Regions from separate parts of the Homo sapiens genome. Here region 1 is linked to region 2. The links are contacts of gene promoters, found by promoter capture Hi-C in blood cells and fetal thymus (Javierre and others, 2016). All regions are on one chromosome and are shown on one strand. Each heading gives the region's core, a stretch centred on a gene start or on the middle of the fragment in contact. The rest is flanking DNA. Distances are from core to core; before and after follow the strand shown.

Region 1 (4,608 bases), core at 1,972-4,471, 1.1 Mb before region 2:
TTACAAAGTCTCTTGCTCCAAAAAAGAGGTAGTTCTTTGCAACTTATGTTTCAAATAATTTCAGTGTCATTTTCTAAAGAAAGATTCTGCGCTAGGACAAGACAGCTTGGATGGTCTTTTCCAAGGGATTAACCGAGGAAAGTTTCCCCCAAATAAATCTCGGTGGAGCAGAGTTCCTGCCTCCCTGCCCTGCCCCACTTCTTCCCCAGTGGACCCCGCCTCCCTGAAACGGCCAGTGCACACTCGGGCCCCAGTCCTGCCCTCCTTTCTCAGTGGCTCTGGAGTGTGAGTGTGAAGCTGGTGACAGAACACGCAGCCCAGGCCAGTCCCTGCTCCTGGCGGACGGGCAAGCTTACCTGGGCCATCTGGGTTGCGGTGTTTCCCTTTGCCCCTAGGAGAACCATGGCCAGGGCAGAGGAGATGCTCACAGGAGAACAGAACACGTTGTGCGAAGGGTTATCTTGACACAGTATCTTTAAAAGGCGTATGGCAAAAGTACCACTTGCATTAGAAAGAGTTTCCATGATGCAGGGCCTGGAAGGGAAGAATAAAGAGAAATGCAGTTTCCACACTCCCTGAATGTTACTGACCTACTTACTACAGGGCAATTTTGGAATCGTACTTTTTGTTTTCTTCTTAAAGTTCGTAAGTATTTTAAATTGGAGAAAAATTTATTTTCTGTTAGTCTCCGGCCAAAAATTAAGTGCAAATGTTAAGGTAATTAGCTAAGTGTGGTGATGGCAGCAGCTCAAACCAGCAATAGCAACAGAACTGGCTCGCCTGCAGAGCTCGCTCTCTCACACACACACACACACACACACACAGAGCTGGAAGCAGTGAACTCCAATTCTTTCCGTAAGGACCAGATCGTCCCATCTGAGGAGGAGAATGGGGTCAGGGAGGAGGAGGAAAATGCTGTTCTTATTCTTGCATGCATTTACAAAGAGTCCTTGTGAGATTTTCAACTGGGCACCAGCCTGTGGCCTCCCTGACATTCAGCTGATACACAAAAGACACTGAGATGCTGAATCTGACCCAGAGACAGACAGCTGTGAGGCAAGGAGCTGTCATCCATAGAGGCAAGTGAGTGCGTCCTGGACAGCCGGGGTGGAGCCAGGCTGCTCCCAGTCAGCCAGCCTGCCCCAGGCCCACGCGGCCTGACATCCCAGTAACTCCATTCAGAGCTCCTGCCCATCACCAGCTTCTGCACATCATGTGACCCTTGAACACAGAGTGGGACTTGGACAATTGTGTGGTTTTGCTTCGTTTTGTTTTGTTTTTAATGTGCTTCCTAACTCAGAAACATCTATTTGGGAGCTTTACTCATTACTCCCAGCAAAAGCCATGAGTGTAGATTGTGCGTGAGAGGAAGGATCTGATCCCTGCAGAACGCCAGAATGGAAAGGCAAGAAACAGCCCAAGGTGAGGAGTAAAACAGGCGAGAACAAGGAGGTGGTGCCTGTGAAGCCACTGGAGACCAAAGTGTGAATGTGAGGGGGTGGGTCTCTTGGCCACAGGCCTGAAACCAAATGAACCCCCACCCCCAGGCTGCAGTTCCCAGTGCACTTGGAAATGAGACCCTGACTCCTCCAGGTGAGCCTGGGAGACCTCCCTGACTCCTTTCCATCTCCCCCTCCTCCCCCACACCCATCCCCAAGGCCTGCCCTCTACGCCCACATTTCTTCCCACTTCGGATTCTGTGCCTGGTCTAATGCCCAGGCCCCCTCCCGAGCCTCTGGTCTCCCTAGAGCCACTCCCCACTGTCGGGACACCTCATCTGTGCTCCCCAAAACGCCACGCAAAGCGCTGGAGAGCCTTGGACAATGAACACAACCCACTCCCCCAGCCACCCCCACGCCACAGCCACACGGCACCTCAGAAAGCGGTGTCTTAATCCTCTTGTCCTTCCTCCTAAATCTCCCAGGGGCCCTTAGGCCCCTCAAAGGTGGCCGCTCAAAGCCACCTTGTTAAAACGGTGTCTTACCCACCTGCCCCCTCCCTTGATCCAGACTCACTGAGGTCACAGCCTCCACCTCTGGCCATCCTGAACCCCTCCCAAAGTCAACTCTTCACAAACACTGTTGGTCCCCCTTAGAAGGCCCCATGTCCATCACGGCATTAATTCCACTCACCCTCAAACACCGCGGCCCGGAGGCTCTGATTCCCACCCTGGAGGAGGTTCTCTTGACCCCGCCGGCGCGACCCTCCCCAGCACGACCCTTCCTCCCGAAGGTGATTCCTCATCTTGCTGGTGGTCCCCACAGACCGCAGGCTCTGCAGGCGAGCGCTGAGCCTGGCTCTGCAGATTCTCAGGACCCCATTCGTTTAGCTGAATTATTGAAAGAATTAAGATGGATAAGAGTGCTCAGATTTGAAACTCCGAGACTGGTGGCTTTATTTTTTTGTTGTTGTTGGTGGTGGTTTTTTTGTGTTTTTCTTTTTTTTGTTTTGAGACGAAGTCTCACTCTGTCTGCCAGGCTGGAGTGCAGTGGCGCAATCCCAGCTCACTGCAACCTCTGCCTCCCGAGTTGAAGTGATTTTCCTGCCTCAGCACATAGCTGACATTATTACAGGCGTGGGCCACCATGCCCGGCTAATTTCTGTATTTTTAGTAGAGACCGGTTTTCACCACGTTTGCCAGACTGGTCTCGAACTCCTGATCTCCAAGGATCCGACCGCCTTGGCCTCCCAAAGTGCTGGGATTACAGGCGTGAGCCACTGCGCCCGGCCGAGACTGGTGACTGTAAAGGACAGTGAAGAAGCAGGACAGACGTCATCCTGCGGATCCCAGAGCAGAGAAGAGCAGTGAGAACACAGGGCCGGCAGGTGGGGAGGAGGCTGCAGGGGAGGGCTTCGGCCAGGGAAGGGCAGCGAGGAGACATCCGGGAGGGAGGCGTCCGCGGTGGCTGTGGGCCGCCAAGGCGGAGACCGGCTGCCGCTCCCAGGCACCCCCCAGAGACCGTTGCTGACCCCACCGAGAAGGCACCGCCTCCCCGGGGCTCTTGGCTGAGCGACCTCTCCTGTCCTCCGGTCCCATCACTCGGTGGCAGCCGGTGGACCTGAAGCTCGCCACTCCCGTCCCCTACCCCAGCCGTGCGCGGGGACGCCCTCACCTGCCACCTAGTCCAGCGCTGCCGCCGTCTCCGTGCCGCGCTCCGAGCCTGGACGCCGACCCCCGAGGCGCAGGACCCGGCCCTGCTGCTGCGCTCGCCGCGGACTCCCGCTAGGGCCTCTGCAGGCACCGCTTTTATACCGCAGGGTCGGGCGCCTCCCACGCTTTCTGCGTTTAGGCGGAGCCTGGCGGGACCAGCGGGGGCGCCGCGCGTGGTGGCCGAGGTCAGAGCTGGGAGCAGGGTCAGGTCAGGGTCCCCCCAGTCCGCCCCGCCCGGGGCGATGTCCGCCAATGCTCCCGCCAGCCTGAGGCCGGCCAGGTTCCCAAGGCGCGCGCTCGGCCTCACCCACCCCCGGCGCCAGGGCCTCTTCAGGACCGGGTTCAGAACCTGACAGCCCAGAGAAGTAGGTTGGGAGCCTGCGGCGTCCAGGGCCTCCGCGCGAAGAAACAAGGCGTCTGCGGGAAAGGAGACGGAGCCTGGAACCCTGGGCTTTTGTACTTAAGGAAGCGAAGGTCGGGTGACAGCCAAGCTCCGTGTTCCAGTGGGAAGGTCCCATGGGTCTGTGTTCCACGCCTCTTGTCATGAATATGGGGGATTCACTTAGAACCAAAGCATTTGTTCCAGGTCCCACCACTAACTAGTACTAGTCCTGGGCCCAGAACCAGGCGTCCTCACTCCTAGTACCCAAGCCCTTCTCTAGCCACAGGTGTTTGGGCTGCGGTGTGGTGTAAGCAGCCCCATTTTCCCGCAAAGTGATGGGAAGAGACACTGAGTCACACGGGCTCAGGACACTCCTTGTGTCCTCTATCAGGGGGTCCAGAGGCAGGGACTCGGGGGAGTTGATGCAGCAGTTCGTGATGTCATCAGATATCCCCCCACCCCCTTCCATCTCAGGCTGGACTCAATTGGAAGCATTTCATGTTGGCACGGTGACGTCCAGAGGAAGGGAACAGACAAATGGCTCTCTCTGGAGCACGGAGCGTCGCCCAGAAGCCGTGCCCTCCTGTTTCAAATTGACCAGAATTAGAGCTTTCTCCTGAGGGCCTGAATTAGGGAGAAGCAAGGCAGGTGCCTAAGGCACAAAATTTCAGGAGGGCCACACGCATAGGTGCCAACCCTGCATTTGCGCGGCCCTGAGAATCAGAGCCTCCTTCAATTTGACACCCTAGGTGCCTAGCTTGTTTTTAAAAATAAAACCTTTATTAAAAGACAATTCACGGACCATAATATGCATCCTTTTAAAGCATACAATTCAATAGTTCTTGGTATATTGACAAAGCTGTCCAACTCTCACCACTATCTAACTCCAGAAGGTTTTCATCACCCTAAAAGGAACTGTGATACCCATTAGCAATTATTCTCCATTTCCTCCTTCCCACAACCCCTGGCTTCTGGGAGAGGCTCCGACCTCCAGATTTCTTTTCTGGCCCTGCGGATTGACCGACTGTGAAGATTTCATGCAAATTGAATCATACAATATGTGGTCTTTCCTGAC
Region 2 (4,758 bases), core at 1,810-4,309:
GTGAGATATATTCATGACACTGCACTCCAGCAGCCTGGGCAACAGAGCAAGACCCTGTTATCCCTCCAAAAAAAAAAAAAAGAAAGAAAAAGAAAACAAAATTACTCCAGATGGTAATGAATCCACAAGAAAAATAAACAAACAACCTGAAATGATAAATAAGGTTACTATAACAAAAGCTACAAATATATATTTGCTTTCCTTTGTTCATTTTCTTTAAATGATGTAAAAGTAATAATTGTAGTAATGTATTGTTGAGTTTGTAACAACTATAACATGTACAACAACAAAACCACAAAAAAACAGGGACATGGAATAAAACTATATTGGAGTAAGGTTTCTATATCTCACTGCAATTGAGTTAGTATAAATCTGAAGCTGATTCTAATAAGTTAAGCTAATTGTACGGTAAGCCCTAGAGCACCACTACAGTCTCTAAAAAAAACTTAAAACAGTGTAAAAAATCATTCAAGAAATTAAAATGCTACATTAGAAGATATTCACTTGATCCAAAACAAAGCAGTAAAGGAGAGACAGGAAAAGAAAAAGACAAGACATAAGGAAAACAAAAATAAGATGGCATACATAAATCCAACTATATCAATAACATTAAATGTGAATGATTAAACAATTGGATCAAAAGGCAGAAATTATCAGATTAAAAAAAACAAGATCCGGCCAGGCACAGTGGCTCATGCCTGTAGTCCCAGCACTTTGGGAGGCCGAGGCAGGTGGATCACAAGGTCAGGAGTTTGAGACCAGCCTGGCCAACATGGTGAAACCCCGTCTCTACTAAAAATACAAAAATTAGCTGGGCGTGGTGGCGGGCCCCTGTAATCCCAGTTACTGGGGAGGCTGAGGTGGGAGAATCGTCTGAACCCGGGAGGTGGAGGTTGCAGTGAGCCCAGATCACGCCATTGTACTCCAGCCAAGGAGGCAGGGCAAGACTCTGTCTCAAAACAAAAAACAAACAAACAAACAAAAAACAAACCAAGATCCAACTATATGTCTACAGGAGACACATTTTAGAGTCAATGATACAAAGCATGTAAATAGTAATCACGTGAGAACTGAAATAGCTACATTAATATCAGACAAAATAGACTTTAAAACAATGTTACTAGAGAAAAAGAGAAACATTTTTAATGATAAAAGGATAAACCCACAAGGAAGATGTAACAATTTACAAGGATAGATGCACCTAGTAACAGAATATATGTAGCAAAAACTGACAGAAATGAAGGGACAAATTGATACCTCAAGAACAGAAGATTAAGTCTTTCATACTCCTGTTCCAACTAGTTAGACTCCACAACAGGTAACATGACTGAAACAGAACTCTATTTAGTTTCCCCCAACTTTCAGTCTCTATCTTGGTAAGTAGCAACTGTATCTGTTTAACTGCCCAAACCAAAATTCTTTAAGTCACTTTCTCTTGAATTCCACATCCCATCAATCAGTGAATCCTATAACTTCTCCCTTCAAAATATATCCAGAACCCAATCATTTTTCCCTACTTACACCCTGATCGAAACTAACACCATCTCTCACAGAGATTACTTAAATACTCTCCTAATTGGATTGCATCTTCCTCCCCTGGTCCCTTGCAGTCTATCTCCATATGGCAGCCAAATGAGCCTTCTAAAACAAATCAGGTCACTCCTCAACCCTGAACTTACTCTGTCCAGTAAACTTTTTTTTCAAAATAATTATTTTTATTTTTATTTTATAGAGATAGGGTTTCCCTATGTTGCCCAGGCTGGCTCGAACTCCTGGGCTTAAGGGATCTTTCCACTTCAGCCTCCCAAAGTGACACAATTACAGGCCTGAGCCACTATGCCCAACCTGTCCAGTACACTTTCAGTGAAATCTAAATCCTACAAACTCCCTTTCCTGCATTACTTCCTACTCCCTTAATCACCCTACTCTCATCGCACTGGCCTCTGCCATTTTCAGCAAGTTGATAAACCCAATTTATAATATAATTCTATTTTTAGAAAACACTACAGGCCCAGCACGGTGGCTCATGCCTGTAATCCCAGCACTTTGGGAGGCTGAGGCGAGTGGATCACGAGGTCAGGAGTTCGAGACCAGCCTGGCCAAGATGGTGAAACCCCGTCTCTACTAAAAATATAAAAATTAGCCGGGCGCAGCGGCGGGCGCCTGTAATCCCAGCTACTCGGGAGGCTGAGGCAGGAGAATTGCTTGAACCCGTGAGGCGGAGGTTGCAGTGAGCCGAGGTCGCACCATTGCACCCTAGCCTGAGCAACAGAGCAAGACTCCGTTTCAAAAAATAAAAATAAAATAAAATAAAATAAAACCACTACATATATATGCATAAAAAAGGATTGCCCAAAATGTGACTATTCACCTACGGTTAGCAGGATTATAAATTTTAATTTTTAAAAAGTTTTTCCTATTGTGAAAAATTATTTCTAATTCATGTGTTACTTATAATAAAGTATATGAAAAGCTGTGTATCAAACACACAATATATTGTATAAAATATATGAAAAGCTGTGGATCAAACCCCATACCCCTACTGTGGTTAATAGTATTTAAGTATATTCAAAATCTGGAAATAAATCATACATGTCACCAAAAAACCACAACAAAAGAAAAATTTGCCTGCAGTAATACAGCATTTACTAACAATACATGCTGCAGGCACTTCCACTCATTATTTCATCTTACTCTCATAATAATTCTATGCAATCAGAACCATTATCCCCATGTTACTGTGTAAAATGAGGCTCAAAAAAGTTAAACTCTTTGAAATTGCACAGTAAGTTGTGAAGCCCAGGTCTGCCTGACTTGAATGCTCACGTTCTAAATACTAATCTAGCTACTGCCTCATCACATAGTAGTTACAAGCAACAGTGCAAAGTTGAAATAACCTAGACATACAATAACAAAGGAAAAAGAGTGTAGTTATAAAAATGCTTACTGAAACTAGAATTATGTATGTAAAAATTGGGAGACATGTTACATGAAAGAGCAAACTATCATATTCTACACGTGAGTACAAGAAAATTTAACATTTCATATGGAAAAAAGCCAAAATAAACCAATATATTCAAGTTGGTTCAGTGTGGGTAATGGAACTCTGGGTGATTTTCATTGTTTTGCTTTGTTATCCTTTGGTTTGCACCAAAATTGCTTCAATACTAACAACAAAAACAACAAAAACAAATTACGTTCTCATAAACTTTGTTTTGTAACAAAGGAAAATTCTGCCCAGTGTTCCAAACACCTCAAAGTTCCAAGTCTAGGTCTAAACCAGAGTCGTTAAGTATTCTCTGAAAAGCGATCTACTCTTAATTGACATCTGGCGACTCTACATGGACCAATGGCTTCCTCCGCAGGATGTTATGATCTTTATTTTGTTTGTAGCCTACGGAAGAATGAGCCTATTAAGAGCTTATTGAGATTGATGATTGCACAGTGTAGCTTGAAAGGTCCAAATTTAATCCGTTTCAACGGGAGGAACAAAATTCAAAACTGTTTTCAAAGTATTTCGAGAATGTGTCCCTTATCTGGAAGTAATACTTAAAACGAAGCAAACAAAGACGGTAAGAGAAAGTCACAAATGCAAGCTCGCGCCCGAAGCCAGCCTCGGGCAGGTACACTTTGGTGTGGTGTGGCGGCGGCAGGGCGCCAAGCGCCGTGGTTTTTACGGTCTCGTCAGCAAGCAGGGCCGACCTCCGCTTTATCGGACAGGACCAACGCAGGATCCGGGGCGCGGCGGCGACAGGGCCCCGAGGCAGATGCCCGAGCTAGAACTCTGGCGCCTACTTACTCCTCGGCCGGCCCGGCTGCTCCGAAAAACGACCTCACAGGAATGGCTGCAAGAGCGCCGCCGCCGGCAGGGGCTGAGGAGAACGAGCCTGGGGCTCCGGGCCCAGAGATGAGACGCTCTGGCTGGGAAGCAAGGAGCATCGGCACCGACGGATAGAGGCCGGTGGCCCTCAGGTTGAGCAGGCGGCTTCGGGGCGGGGAGAGAAGGGACCAAGGCCCACCGCAGGCCTCAGATCCTCCCACGCCTCCCCGCTGCTACCCAACGATGACGCAAGTACGCATGCGCCTCCCCAGCTGCCGCTGGGAAGAGCGCGCTCCCCAGGGCCCCGCCCCCTCCAAGGATTTCCGGGGAGGCGGGTTCCACTGCTGACTTACCGGTTTTACTCCTCTGCTCAAAAGGCGCCTGCCCGAGGCCGCTTTCCGTTGCAAAGGTTCCTGAATTTGGGGAGGAAGAGCAGCAAGACTGAAATATTGGGCATACGTTTGTTGCTTCATAAACGTTTGCTGAATGAATAAACTGATACGCCGATGTTTGCTTTAATTGTAACTCCCCCTGCCGCAGTTCCCAGTCTTTGAAAATTACAACAGCAACATAGTTTTGGGCGTGTCCTTGACAAATGTGTTTCATTCCCCAGGTAGTACCGTGCAAGTGAACTTGGTGAGAATTTTTTCAAGGAAATTTTTGCCAGCATCGATTTTTGAAACTTAGTTTTTACCATGCTCTTTAAAAAAATAAACACTTGGTTTGTTCAAATACCAACTTTAGTCACACAATCTGGCTTCAGCACCTATTGTTCGGGCCCCATATATCGTTCTCCACACTTAGGATGCTTCATCTCCACATAAAGCATAACTGCAAAATACACAGGGCAGAAGGAGACCTGGGAGATAATACTATGGTTGCAGAAATTAAGACCAGCCTGAGCTCTCGACAACAAGAAAGAGACACAGCGAAAACAA

The links. The method cuts DNA at HindIII sites, captures the fragments that hold promoters and counts their contacts. A CHiCAGO score of 5 or more calls a contact.
Region 1: the fragment with the promoter of SERPINB9 here is called in contact with a fragment that was not itself captured in region 2 in 1 of 17 cell types (activated CD4 T cells); the score reaches 5.3 in activated CD4 T cells.

Annotation. Positions count from the first base shown.
Region 1 is chr6:2,900,088-2,904,695 of GRCh38, forward strand. It overlaps SERPINB9 (serpin family B member 9), which reads right to left and starts at 3,222. Exons shown (of 7, transcript NM_004155.6): 1 at 3,114-3,222; 2 at 357-534. The coding sequence starts at 524. SERPINB9-AS1 (SERPINB9 antisense RNA 1) reads left to right here. Exons shown (of 5, transcript NR_110841.1): 5 at 396-589. RefSeq lists an enhancer at 2,686-3,187 and silencers at 2,898-2,947, 3,188-3,267, 3,368-3,417. The HindIII fragment of the contact is 13,362 bases long and covers 350-4,608 here.
Region 2 is chr6:4,014,647-4,019,404 of GRCh38, forward strand. It overlaps LOC124901245 (a long non-coding RNA gene), which reads right to left. Exons shown (of 2, transcript XR_007059415.1): 1 at 4,174-4,758. Among named protein-coding and RNA genes, the nearest start is that of PRP4K, 4.3 kb to the right of the region's middle. RefSeq lists an enhancer at 3,906-3,955. The HindIII fragment of the contact is 6,943 bases long and covers 1-4,758 here.